2 separate regions of the Homo sapiens genome follow, and region 1 is linked to region 2. The links are contacts of gene promoters, found by promoter capture Hi-C in human tissues and cell types (Jung and others, 2019). All regions are on one chromosome and are shown on one strand. The core of a region is centred on a gene start or on the middle of the fragment in contact, and the rest is flanking DNA. Distances in the headings are between cores, read along the strand shown.

Region 1 (6,238 bases), core at 115-2,614, 130 kb after region 2:
CCACGTCTGGCGCGGCAGGCGGCTCTCGGCCCACAGCACCACCTTGGAGCCTGGGCTAGGGGGTCCAATCACCTGTAGGCTCATGGTGGGGGCCATCTGAGGCCCCAGGAGGTCATCAGGCATTGTTCCTCCCCACAGGGACTCTACTGTACCCAAGAAACCCTTGACCCATCTGCTCTGAATCCTGGCTCTTAGGGACTGTGGCCCTGGGCAAGTCTCTTAATCCTCCTCAGCTTCAGTTTCCTCTCGGGGATGGGAATCCCCAAATGCTGGCTTTTGTGAGGGTTCAGTGTGAGAAAACATAAAAGGGCTGGAAAAATATTAACTCCTCCAGGAATCCTTCCATGATTGGCTTCCAAAGCATAGGCTTTAGCATCAGACAAATCTCTACACATTTACTAGCTGTGTGACTTTCAGCAAATTACCTAACCTCTCTATGCTCTGGTTTCCTCACCTGTAAAATGGGGAGTATAAAAAGACCTGCCCCACGGTACTCTAGACTAAAGATTATAGGAGGCATTTGTGTGAAGAACTCAATGCAGAGCCTGGCATGTGGTCAGCCATCTCTCTCATTCTAAGTAAAAGACAAAACCTCTCAATGGCCTACAAAGACCTACAGTCCTTATAACCTTTCTGGCCTCATCTCCTGCTACCTCCCCCTTACTCAACTCACTCTAGCCACCCAGCTAGCCTTGCTAGCCCAGAAAAATCCCAGGCATGTTCCTTCCTCAGGGCCTTTGCACTGGCTGTTCCCTCTGCCTGGAACACTCTTCCCTCAGATATCTGCATGGCTGCCTCCCTCAAATGTCATCTTCTTCGGAAAGGCTCCCCTACCATACCTGATACTTTCTATTCTCCTTTTTTTTTTTTTGAGACAGAGTCTCCCTCTGTTGCCCAGGCTGGTGTGCAGTGGTGTGATCATAGCTTACCGCAGCCTCAATCTCCTGGGCTCACGTAATCCTCCCACCTCGGCCTCCTGAGTAGCTGGGACTACAGGTGCATGCCACCACATCCGGCTAGTTTTTTTATTTTTTGTGGAGATGGCATCTCATTATGCTGCCCAGGCTGGTCTTGAATTCCTGAGCTCAAGAGATCCTCCTGCCTCACTCAGCCTCTCAAAGTGCTGTGATTACAGGAGTGAGCCACTGCACCTGGCCTATTCCCCTTTCATGATTTATCTTCCTCTATTGAACTTTCATCCTGTAAGACACTAAGATATTCTGCCCATTTAAGTTATTTCTGTCTATCTCTCCCCACTAGGATGTAAGCTTCAGGACGGCAGGTGTCAATTCTGTCTATAACTGCTGTATCCCCAGCATCTAGAACAGAGCCTGGCACATAGTAGGTGCTCAAGAAATGTCTGTGGAGTAAATCTACCTTTTCTCTTATTTTTATTTTTGTTTTTTTTTGAGACCAGGTCTTGTGCTGTCACCAAGGCTGGAGTGCAGTGGCGCAATCCTCACTCACTGCAGCCTCTAACTCCTGGGCTCAAGCCTCCCACCTCAGCCTCTTGAGTACCTGAGACTACAGGCATGCACCACCACACCCAGTTAATTTTTTGTTTGGCCTCAAACTCCTGTCCTCAAGCAATCCTCCTGCCTCGGCCTTCCAAAGTGTTGGGATTATAGGCATGAGCCACCATGCCTGGCCAAATCTACCATTATTAATAGGGTTCAAGTTCTGTCATGGGCATTAGAGCTGGGAGGTCCCTTAGAAGCACCCAGTTCATTGCTCTTGTTTTTACAGACTGGGGCCCAGAGAAGAGCACGACTTGCCCAGGGGGAACAGTCTGCACTCTCCCTCTCCCCAGGGTCCTGGCTTCTGTGTGCATCCCTCTGTGTTCCTGATTGGGCTGGGACTCCCCAGAGTGGACCTGCAAATGCCTAGGGCCAGGGTGTCCCTGTGCCAGCCCCTGTATCAGTACCTGGTTCTTCAGCAGCCCATCCTCGTAGTACCAGATGCAGCTACCTCCAGCTTGGGGGTCGGCGACCACCACACGGCCTGCTTTCATGTCCTCCACATGGTCCGGCACTGCCAGGAATCCCCCCAGTGCTGCATTCCAGAGGCGGAAATAAACCCGGCGCTGGTGGCAGAAAGAGGCTGAGAGTCAGGGGTGCCGGGGAGGGATGACCTGGGCCCCCAGTACCCTCAACTCTGGACTCTCCAGTATCAGGCTCCCAAGCCCTCCCTCCTGTCCCCAAACCTTCCTTGACTCTATTTCTAAGTCACTGCTTCTTTACACACACATACGGAGAGCACATGTATCTCTCTCTCTCTCACACACACACACACACACACACACACACACAGTTCCATGGTCATAGAGGTACCCACAGATGTGTGCAGAGGGACAAACTGACAGATACACCTCTGGTACACATGATGGCACAGAAGTTCACAGAAGACACAAACACATGGATACATGCAGCCATCCAACTCACATGTTCTAACCATAGATCCATGCAGTCTACTCCATACCAGGCAGTTCTGCTTGCTAAAAGCGTGGATGTGTGTGGGCATACAGATGTGCACACACACTTACAGAAAGAAATGCACACACACCTGTGTTGAAGAGGGTTCCTGACGGGATGGACACTGGACTGTCAGACATCAGACATGGCTCTGCCATAAATCAGCTGGAGCTCTTAGATGGTAGCAAAAGTAATAATAGTAATAACAATAATCACAGCTAACGTTTGTTGAGAGCTGACTCACTCAAGCACTGTTCTAATAATGTTTTACCTACATTATCTTCAGTCCTCAAAACTGACCCATGACACGTGTTATCCTCATTTTAAAGATGAGGAAACGAAGGTCTAAGGAGGTACAGTACTTGCCCAAGATTGCAGAGCAAATCCGTGTCCACTTCTCTGGGCCTTTATTTCCCCATCTGTAAAATGTGAGGGGTGGAGATAATCTCCAAGATTTCTCCCAGCAATGATGTTATGAGTCTTGAATACAAGAACTACACAAATATCCTTATACAAAGATACACACACTGTCAATGGTGTCACAAGTACAAGCATGCGCAGTCATAAATGCAATCCCGGCCGGGCGCGGAGGCTCACGCCTGTAATCCCAGCACTTTGGGAGGCCAAGGCGGGTGGATCACCTGAGGTCAGGAGTTCGAGGTCAGCCTGGCCAACATGGCAAAACCCTGTCTGTACCAAAAATACAAAAAAATTAGCCAGGTGTGGTGGCACACGCCTGTAATCACAGCTACTCGGGAGGCTGAGGCAGGAGAATCGCTTGAACCCGGGAGATGTAGGTTGCAGTGAGCCGAGATCACACCACTGCACTCCAGCCTGGGTGACAGAGTAGGACTCCATCTCAAAAATAAATTAATTAATAAAAATTAAAAAAATGAATGCACTCCCACAGATACACACACACACACACACACACACACACAGGTCATCACCAGAGCACACAGATGCATGGACACAAATAACCTGATGAGCACAGAAATACCCTCAGATGGGAACATGCATGCACACACACATACACACAGAGCCCATGGCCTTACCATTTATCTGCACATGTGCATTAATGATACTGATGTTCAGACATGCAGGCACGGACATACAGAAACACATATGCAGGCAGTGCTTCCCCAAGTGAGGTATGCTTACTACCAGTGGGTGGTCCATGAGATCACTTTCAGTCCTATGTGGCTAAACTATTTTTTTTTTGAGACAGGGTCTCGCTCTGTCACCCACGCTGGAGTACCAGTGGAGCCATCATGGCTCACTGTAGCCTCAAACTCCTGGGCTCAGGTGATCCTCCCGAGTAGCTGGGACTATAGCACAAGCCATCACACCTAGCTCATTTCTTTTGTATTTTTTGTAGAGATGGGGTCTCGCCATGTTGCCCAGGCTGGTCTCGAACTCCTGGGCTCAAGCAACCCTCCCTCCTCGGCCTCCCAAAGTGATGAAATTACAGGAGTGAGCCACCGCACCCAGCCTATAAACTCATTTTTGAAAAATTAATGGCAATGTATTTATTACATCTATTAAGAAAAAAAATCAGGCTGGGCATGGTAGCTCACACCTGTAAACCCAGCACTTTGGGAGGCTGAGACGGGCGGATCATGAGGTCAGGAGATCGAGACCATCCTGGCTAACATGGTGAAACCCCATCTCTACTAAAAATACAAAAAAATTAGCCGGGCATGGTGGCGGGTGCCTGTAGTCCCAGCTACTCAGGAGGCTGAGGCAGGAGAATGGCATGAACCCGGGAGGCAGAGCTTGCAGTGAGCCGAGATCATGCCACTGCACTCCTGCCTGGGCGACAGAGCAAGAAGACTCTGTCTCAAAAAAAAAAAAAAAGAAAGAAAATCATATGTACACATCAAACTCATGACTTTATGGATATTATTCCTTAGGACAAGGATAAAGTTAAAAAAAATGTGATTTTTTTCTTTTTCCTCTTCTGGGGATATTGTCTAGAGGCACTGAGAATGTTCCAGCATTTGACATATTGTCATAGGCTTTCCTACGGTACAGCCTCTAACAAAACTAGGCTGTCCTGAGCCCCTCGTAATAGAATTGTTGACCTCTATACCTACAAAGTTGGGAAAGCACCAAAATCTGCATGTGGCGTGTGCCCAGGCAGACTTCAAGGGGTTCATGTTGTGAGGTCTAAAGTTCTTATGAGATTGTCCAAAACAAAAAACATGTCAGGAGGGCCTATGGTGGTTCCAGGTATGCTAAATGTGTTCGTGGCAGGATCAAGCCTGCTTTCCTTATGCAGCAGCTAAAAATCCTTATGAAAGTGTTGAAGGCACAAGCACAGACTCAGAAAGCTAAATAAAAACTGGGCTGGGGCTGGGCACAGTGGTTCATGCCTGTAATCCCAACACTTTGGGAGGCCAAGGTGGGCAGATCACATGAGGTCAGGAGTTCAAGACCAGCCTGGCCAACATGATGAAACCCCATCTCTACTAAAAATACAAAAATTAGCTAGGCGCAGTGGCTCATGCCTGTAATCCCAGCACTCTGGGAGGCCGAAGTGGGCAGATCACAAGTCAGGCGTTCGAGACCAACCTGGCCAATTACAGTGAAACCTCGTCTCTACTAAAAATACAAAAAATTAGCCGGGTGTGGTGGCAGGCACCTGTAATCCCAGCTACTTGGGAGTCTGACGCAGGAGAATTGCTTGAACCCAGGGGGCAGAGGTTGCAGTGAGCCGAGATCACGCCATTGCACTTCAGCCCAGGTGACAGTGCGAGATTCCGTCTCAAAAAACAAAAAACAAAAAAAAAAACCAAAAATTAGCCAGATGTGGTGGCACATACTTGTAATCCCAGCTACTTCGGAGGATGAGGTAGGAGAATCACTTGAATCTGGGAAGCGGAGGTTGCAGTGAGCCGAGATCGTGCCATTGCACTCCAACCTGGGCAACAAGACCAAAACTCCATCTCAAAAAAAAAAAAAAGGGCTGGGCATGGTGGCTCACGTCTGTAATCCCAGCACTTTGGGAGGCCGAGGCAGGTGGATCACTTGAGGTCAGGAATTGGAGACCAGTCTGGCCAACATGGTGAAACCCTGCCTCTACTAAAAATACAAAAATTAGCTGAGCGTGGTAGCACGTGCCTGTGGTCCCAGTTACTTGGGAGGCTGAGGCACAAGAAGCACTTAAACCCGGGAGGTGGAGGCTGCAGTGAGCCAGGATGTTGCCACTGCGCTCCAGCCTTTGTGGCAGAGCAAGACTCTGTCACACAAAAAAAAAAAAGAAAAAGAAAGAGAAAAAAAAGCTTTTTTTAAGAAATAAAAATTAATTAAAAGACTTTTAAAAAGAGAGTTAATCTAGAGAAAAATATTAAGTAGACAATGGCTCAAGAGGAATGACGATGTGGCAAAAGTTGTGACAAAAGTACACAAATGCTGTGTTTGGGAAACACACAGCTAGACACTCATCCAGAAAGGCCTGCCCAGACACGCTCAGCCCCAGACACGCTCAGCTCCAGCCACGCTACCCACCTGCTTGATGGGGTAGAGGGAGCCCACCCTCTGGGTGCCGCTGTAGGTCAGCCAGTTGGTGATCTCGCAGCTTCCCACCAGCCACTGGCGGCCCCGGAAGTCACTGTGTTCACATAGCACCCAACTGGGCCCAGCAGGTGTCAGGGACACAGAGAAGAGCACAGACACACAGACAGACAGACAGGTGGAGGAGGAGACACAGACGTCAAAACGTTCTCCACCTCCTCTTCTCCCATGGAGGGATTCCTCTGCCTGGA
Region 2 (7,038 bases), core at 117-2,616:
TCCCTGGGTGATCATGGTCCCTTAGCCCCTCCTCTCCACACAGGCAAAGCTGCAGGAGCTGCAGGTCCTAGAAGAAGTGCTGGGTGACCCTGAGCTGACAGGAGAGAAGTTCCGCCAGTGGAAGGAGCAGAACCGGGAGCTGTACTCAGAGGGCCTGGGGGCCTGGGGAGTGGCACAGGCTGAAGGCAGCTCCCACATCTTGACCTCTGACTCCACAGAACAGTCCCCCCACTCCCTGCCCTCTGACCCTGAAGAGCACTCCCATCTCTGCCCCCTGACCTCAGAGAGCAGCCTCCGACCTCCTGACCTCTGACCCTGGCCAGCACTCTAGCTCCTGACCTTTGACCCGAGGGCCACCTCAACCCCAGCTTCTGACGTGTCCAGGACAGAGCATCCCTGGATTCTGTTCAGGGTGGGAAGTAGTACTGCTAGTCATGGTCTCACCCCGAGCTGACCCCTCTGCCTGGGCTTTGTGCCACCCTCTCCCTTGCCAAAGAAGAAACTCTCCCCCCAAATCCTCCAACCTCTGGGGCCACAGCCCTGCCCCTCCAGTTCCTTGGCAGTTCTCCCCCAAACCAGGTCTGTACAGGTGTTCTTTATTTTACATGAGGGCTACTTTCCAACCAAATAAAGTCAATTTTTCTAAGAATGAGTCTACATGTAACTTTACTTCCATATTCGAATTGGAAATCTGCCCCCCTGTGGGGACTGGGGTGAGTGCTCTTGGCCAGAGGGTGGGTGGCAGACCCTTCGTGCAGCCCGTTGGCCTGGGCTCTGTACCCGAGCTCCAAGCCTGCCAGGATGGTGGGGGATGACCCATGGCTAATGAGGGCTCCGACTCATGTCCACCTCTCCCCAGCTCTTTGAAGGCTAATGGTGATCTCCTACCCCATTCCCGGGGGGCACACAATGAGAAACTTCCACTTTGTAGATGGGGAAATGCACTTTGCACGGAAAGGTGGTGGGGACAGTCCTGGAGACTGGGCTGGTAGGACAGGGCAGCTGGTGGGGAAGGGTGCAGGTTGAGGTCTGCCCTGGGAAGGCCCTGGGGAAAACACTTCTCTCCTTCACTCCTCATTCCAGCCTCACCTCCACCTCCTGGATCCAAGGCAGGGACATGTCCCTGTGACTCCATTCAGGCTGCACGGGAAATCTGACCTGCTCCCATCAGCCTCTGACTTCCAACCCCAGCCCAGCATCCCCACAGCATCCCCAGACTTCCTCTGTGGGATGCGGAGGAGGGCCAATGGGAGGAGCTTCTCTCCAGGTTGGAATTCCTCAGTAGAATGCAGACGGCTGGAGGTCACAGAGGCCTCTGTGATATCACCACGAGGGGGAGTGAGACCACTTGGAGTGAAGATTCTTTGAGGAGAAGGAAGAGACTGAGCAAACATGAGGGATAATGAAAAGGCCTGGTGGCAGCAATGGACCTCCCATACAGGCCTCGAGGGGTGGGGCGGGACTCAGGAGGACCGTATGGGGTTTGGAGGGGCAGTAGCTGCACTGAGGGGCCGCCCCTCTCCCCTGCAGAGTACCATTCACGAGTCCTACGGTCGGCCAGAGGAGCAAGTGCTCATCAACCGCCAGGAAATCACGAACAAAGCGGTAAGGATAGCTCTCGCCCCACAGTGGCCCCTTCTGCAGCTGTGCTCATGGGCAGCAGGCCCTCATGGTAACTCTGCCCCTCTACCCTCTAAACGCCCCCAGAAGACCCTCCCTAGCACTGATCCCTGAGTGACTGCCCATGATATGTTAGTAACTCTCTGGCAATGCCCCCCATAGGAACCCTTATATAACGATCATCTTCACTATCAGAGAGCCCAAAGAGATTCTCTGGCAATGACTTCCACAAAATCCCCCGATAGTAACCCACTTTTAGTGGCCATTTAGATAGTGATCTCTACACTGATGTCTCCATTCCATGATCCACTCTCAGATGATTTCCCCCCTCTAGAGTGGGCCCCAGGAACCCCCATTCTCTAAGAGCAAACCCCCAGGCAGAGGCTTCCTATGGTGACACCTGCCTGAAGGAAGGTCCTGCCCTCTTCCAGGACGCCTGGGACATGCAGGAGTTCATCACTCACATGTACATCAAGCAGCTGCTCCGACACCCCGCCTTCCAACTGCTGCTGGCCCTGCTGCTGGTGATCAATGCCATCACCATCGCTCTCCGTACCAACTCCTACCTGGACCAGGTGGGATGCCAGCATGACCTCTGCCCCACTAACCCTAATGGGGGGCCTGGGGCAAGAACTCTTCCGGCCTCAGGCTCCTCATCTGTCTATGATGGTTGGATTGGATGCTCTTCAAGGGTCTGTCAGCTCTGACCTTCTAGGAATCTGGAGATCAAGGAAGACTTCATGATGGAGAGGGCTCTGCAGCCTGGCTTTGAGGAATGCATTGGATTTGTACAGGAGGGACAGGAGAAGAATGGTGTGAGCAGAGGGAGGCAAATGGGTGCCTTGTGGAGAAGGGGTATCCAATTCTAACCAGCAGTCACTAAGGGAGAATCACTCAGTGCCAGGCACTGACTGTGCAGACTGCCAGGGTCCCAGGGATAATAAGCACAACTGGGTCCTGTCTCAGACACACAGAAACTGTCATTACAAGTGCTCAAGTAGCACCCAGAGTACATGGAGGCTCAACGAAGGCACTCGAACCTAATCTCAGGGGTCAGAGCTGGCTTCCTGGAGAAAGTGACACTGGAGCTGAGAGTAAAGAAGTAGGATGTGATCTCAGTCACCACAACAAAGAAACAGAAAAAAAGAGCACGTAGGAGTTGGCCAGGCAAAGAGAGGTGGGGGAGACTTTTTGGGGAAAAGAAACAGCATGTGAGAGACTTCTCTGTGTCCAACTTGAAGTTTAGTGTGACTTATCCTTGATGTTTTAATTTCTTTTTTTTTTTTTTTAGAGACAAGGTCTCACTCTGTCACCCAGGCTGGTGTGCAGTGGCGCCATCTTGGCTCAATGCAGCCTTGAACTCCTGGACTCAAGTGATCCTCCTGCCTCAGCCTCCCAAGTAGCTAGGACTACAGGCACGAGCTACCATGCCTAATTAAAAAAATGTTTTTGAGCCAGGCGCAGTGGTTCATGCCTGTAATCCCAACACTTTGGCAGGCCAAAGTGGGTGGATCACCTGAGGTCAGGAGTTCAAGACCAGCCTGGCCAACATGGTGAAACCCCGTCTCTATTAAAAATACAAAAATTAGCCAGGCATGGTGGTGGGCGCCTATAATCCCAGCCACTTGAGAGGCTGAGGCAGGATAATCGCTTGAAGCAGGGAGGCGGAGGTTGCGGTGAGCCGAGTTTGTGCCACTGCACTCCAGCCTGGGCGACAGAGCGAGACTCTATCTCAAAAAAAAAATTTTTTTTGTAGAGACAGGTTCTCGCTCTGTCGCCCAGGCTGGTCTGGAACTCCTGGGCTCAAGCAATCCTCCAGCCTTGGCCTCCCAAAGTGCTGAGATTATAGGTGTGAGCCACCATGCTGGGCTGAGGACTATTTAGAATGCTTTTTTGAATAATGGTGTGGATGTCCTATTGTCTCCAGTGGCCATATGTGACAGTGGGCCCTAAGGCACTGAGTCTGTTGCACTTTGGGGTAAAGCGCACTTTTGGGGAGGACACTTTGAGAGGTCAAGACAGGCAGATCACTTGAGGTCAAGGGTTCGAGACCAGCCTGACCAACGTGGTGAAACCCCATCTCTACAAAAATACAAAATTAGCCAGGCATGGTGCGCACGCCTATAATCCCAGCTACTTGGGAGGCTGACGTAGGAGAATCGCTTGAACCCAGGAGGCGGAGTTTGCAGTGAGCTGAGATGTCACATTAAAAAAAAAAAGAAAGAAAGGGAGGAGACACGGTGACTTGGGTGACTGCTAGGTGGAGTCGGGCACTATGGGGGCTGTTAGTGGGGTCGCAGCCATAAGGAAGCTGAAGGAGTTTCGAGGTTGAGAGAAAGTGAATTGGGCTCTGGACAGACCCCAGTCACCCATCTACCAATTCATCCATCCAGGGTGCATGTCCTGGACCCATGAGTGGCAGGATACCCAGGAGTTTGGTCAGGCCTAACTTGGAGTATTTGGAGAGCTGGAATAGCAGGAGAGGTTAGGACAGATGGAGCTTGGTGTTCTCCACCCTCAGAGGCCAGGCCTTTTCCTCCCAATCCTGGAGGCTGTTCTGCCTCTCCTACCTCCCTCTCCAAAATATCCCTATTCTAGAAGTTAGGGACAAAAGTTCATAGTCAGACAACCATCTTTATCAACTAGCTGTGCACACAGGCGCCACTCTGATTCCACTTCTGTAAGACGGGAATAAAACCTACTTTGCAGGACAACAGTGATGGTAACATGAAGTGATGTGTGATAGCCCCAGCACAGTGCCTGGCACGCACAGGCAAAGTGTGTTTTAAAGGAAGTGACAAGGTTGCTGAGGACCAAGAGCAGCAGTGATACGGGACTTCCCTCCCCTACATACATCCTCTCCCTGCCGGCTTGCCCAGGCCCTGCTCCACTGACCTCTCTGCCCCTCTTTTTTCTCTGTCTCCCATGTAGAAACACTATGAGTTGTTCTCTACCATAGATGACATTGTGCTGACCATCCTTCTTTGTGAGGTTCTCCTTGGCTGGCTCAATGGCTTCTGGATTTTCTGGAAGGTGAGATCCTGAGCCCTTTGCCCCTACTTCCCCCTGGGGACTGCACACCACCCAGTCTGCCCCTGTACTCCTGGCCCTACAAACTGAGGGTGTGAGTATGTGTGTGTGTGTAGACAGAGTGTGTTAGTTCAGAGATGTGTATGATGTGGCAGAAAGTAACTGGTACTAGAAGTGCAGCCTCCCTGGGCTCCAATTCCAATCCCTGCTCCAGCCTTCCCCAGCTCTGTAGTCTTGGACAAACCTGACTTCCTTGTCTGAGAAATGGGGCTGAAAGCATCTACCTTAATTTACAGAGATCAACAGGGATCAGCACACTTTTTCTGTAATGGACCAGATAATAAAGATTTTAAGCTTCATGGCTGTACAGCCTCTGTTACCATGACTCACCTCTGCCATGGCAGCACAAAAGCAACCATGGACCACACATAAATGAAGTGGGCATGGCTGTGTTCGTGGACACCCAAATTGGAATTTCATGTAATTTTCATGTGTTATAAAATCTGATTTTCCCTATTCACTTGCTTTACTCCTACTTACAAACTCATTCAGATGTCTTCTCTTCCAGGAAGTCTTCTTGTCTCTCCCAGGCTAGGTTAGGTGCTGCTTTGTGTCTCCATGATGCTATGCACTTATTTTTTTTGCATGGAGTTAAAATTTTCTGTTTATCCATCTTCCTCAAAATAGTCTGTGAGCCTAACAGGGCAGGCATCCTATATTCTCAGGAACTGGATCTGGGTATGGCACACAACAGGAGCTACATGCTGAATTGATATATGGATGGATCTGCAGACAGGCAGACTTGTATCTCCTTGTGTATGTGAAGGTGCAGACTCAGTACGAGAGGCCAGGAGGACTTGTGCTTACTGGACCCCCAATACATTGAAGAACTTTTTTTTTTCATTAAGTATAGTTTTCTTGCTGGCTGCAGTGGCTCATGCCTGTAATCCCAACACTTTGGGAGGCTGAGGTAAGAGGATCACTTGAGGCTAGGAGTTTGAGACAGACTGGCAACATGGTGAAACCTCGTCTCTACTAAAAATACAAAAACTAGCTGGGCGTGGTGGCGCGTGCCTGTAATCCCAGCTACTTAGAGGCCGAGGCAGGAGAACCACTTGAACCCGGGAGGCGGAGTTTGCAGTGAGCTGAGATTGCGCCACTGCACTCCAGCCTGGGCGACAGAGAGAGATTCTGTTTCAAAAAAAAAGTTTTCTTTTTGAATATTTAATGCAGATACATGCTGGTCAAAACTATGTTGAAAGGTACACACAGAATTCTTGCTTCTCTTTTGTCCCCTCATCCCTCTTCTCCCACCACTATCCTTTCTAGGTAATGTTTTTATATTTATAGTCTCTTTTTTATTGTCTTTGTCCATTTAGTGTTGCTATAAAGGAATACCCGAGGTTGAATAACTTATAAAGAAAGGAGTTGTATTTGGCTCCCAGTTCGGCAGGCTGTGTGAGAAGCATGGTGCCAACATCTGCTTCTGGTGAGGGCTTCAGGCTGCTTCCACTCATGGCAGAAGGTGAAGCATGTGCAGATCACATGGCGAGACAGGAAGAAAGAGAGAGAGTGAGAGGGGAGATGGGAGATGCCAGGCTCTTTTTTCTTTTTCTTTTTCTTTTTTTTTTTTGAGACGGAGTCTCGCTCTGTCGCCTGGGCTGGAGTGCAGTGGCGCGATCTCGGCTCACTGCAAGCTCTGCCTCCCCGGGTTCACACCATTCTTCTGCCTCAGCCTCCCGAGTAGCTGGGACTACAGGCGCCCGCCACCACGCCTGGCTAATTTTTTGTATTTTTAGTAGAGACGGGGGTCTCACCGTGTTAGCCAGGATGATCTTGATCTCCTGACCTCGTGATCCGCCCTCCTCAGCCTCCCAAAGTGCTGGGATTACAGGCATAAGCCACCGCGCCCGGCCTATGCCAGGCTCTTTTTAATAAGCAGCTCTTGAGGGAACTCATTCATTACCTTCAGGATGGCACCAAGCCATTCATGACCCAATACCTCCCATTAGGTCCCACCTCTAACACTGAACATCAGATTTCAACATGAGATTTGGAGGGGATAAACATTCAAACTATAGCAGCCTCACAGTATTTATTTTTACAATAATCAGCAAATATGTATATACCCTCGATCTTCCGTTTCCTAACAGTAACATAGTATAAACATTATTCTGCACTTACTTTTGTCACTGAATGGATCCTGACAATCTTTCTATATCAGTACATGGAGATCTTTCTCATTTTTCTTTCTTTTCCTTTTTTTTTTTTTTTTTCTTTAGAGATGAGGTCTTGCTATGTTTTCCAGGTTGGTCGCAAACTCTTGGCCTCAAGCAATCCTCTCCCGCCAGCCTCTCAAAGCACCAGGATTACAGGCAAGGGTCACCA

The links. The method cuts DNA at HindIII sites, captures the fragments that hold promoters and counts their contacts. A contact is called where the count stands out against the background at its distance.
Region 1: a fragment that was not itself captured here is called in contact with the fragment with the promoter of CATSPER4 in region 2 in 1 of the 25 tissues and cell types used here (mesenchymal stem cells).

What each region holds. Positions count from the first base shown.
Region 1 is chr1:26,322,228-26,328,465 of GRCh38, forward strand. It overlaps CRYBG2 (crystallin beta-gamma domain containing 2), which reads right to left. Exons shown (of 20, transcript NM_001039775.4): 17 at 5,982-6,105; 18 at 1,925-2,083; 19 at 1-96. It also overlaps the pseudogene RPL34P4. Among named protein-coding and RNA genes, the nearest start is that of CD52, 7.4 kb to the left of the region's middle. RefSeq lists an enhancer at 1-18. The HindIII fragment of the contact is 4,294 bases long and covers 1-3,511 here.
Region 2 is chr1:26,189,236-26,196,273 of GRCh38, forward strand. CATSPER4 (cation channel sperm associated 4) reads left to right here and starts at 1,367. Exons shown (of 10, transcript NM_198137.2): 1 at 1,367-1,605; 2 at 2,052-2,195; 3 at 4,552-4,653. The coding sequence starts at 1,393. It overlaps CNKSR1 (connector enhancer of kinase suppressor of Ras 1), which reads left to right. Exons shown (of 21, transcript NM_006314.3): 21 at 44-649. The coding sequence ends at 313. RefSeq lists an enhancer at 1,253-2,070. The HindIII fragment of the contact is 15,004 bases long and covers 1-7,038 here.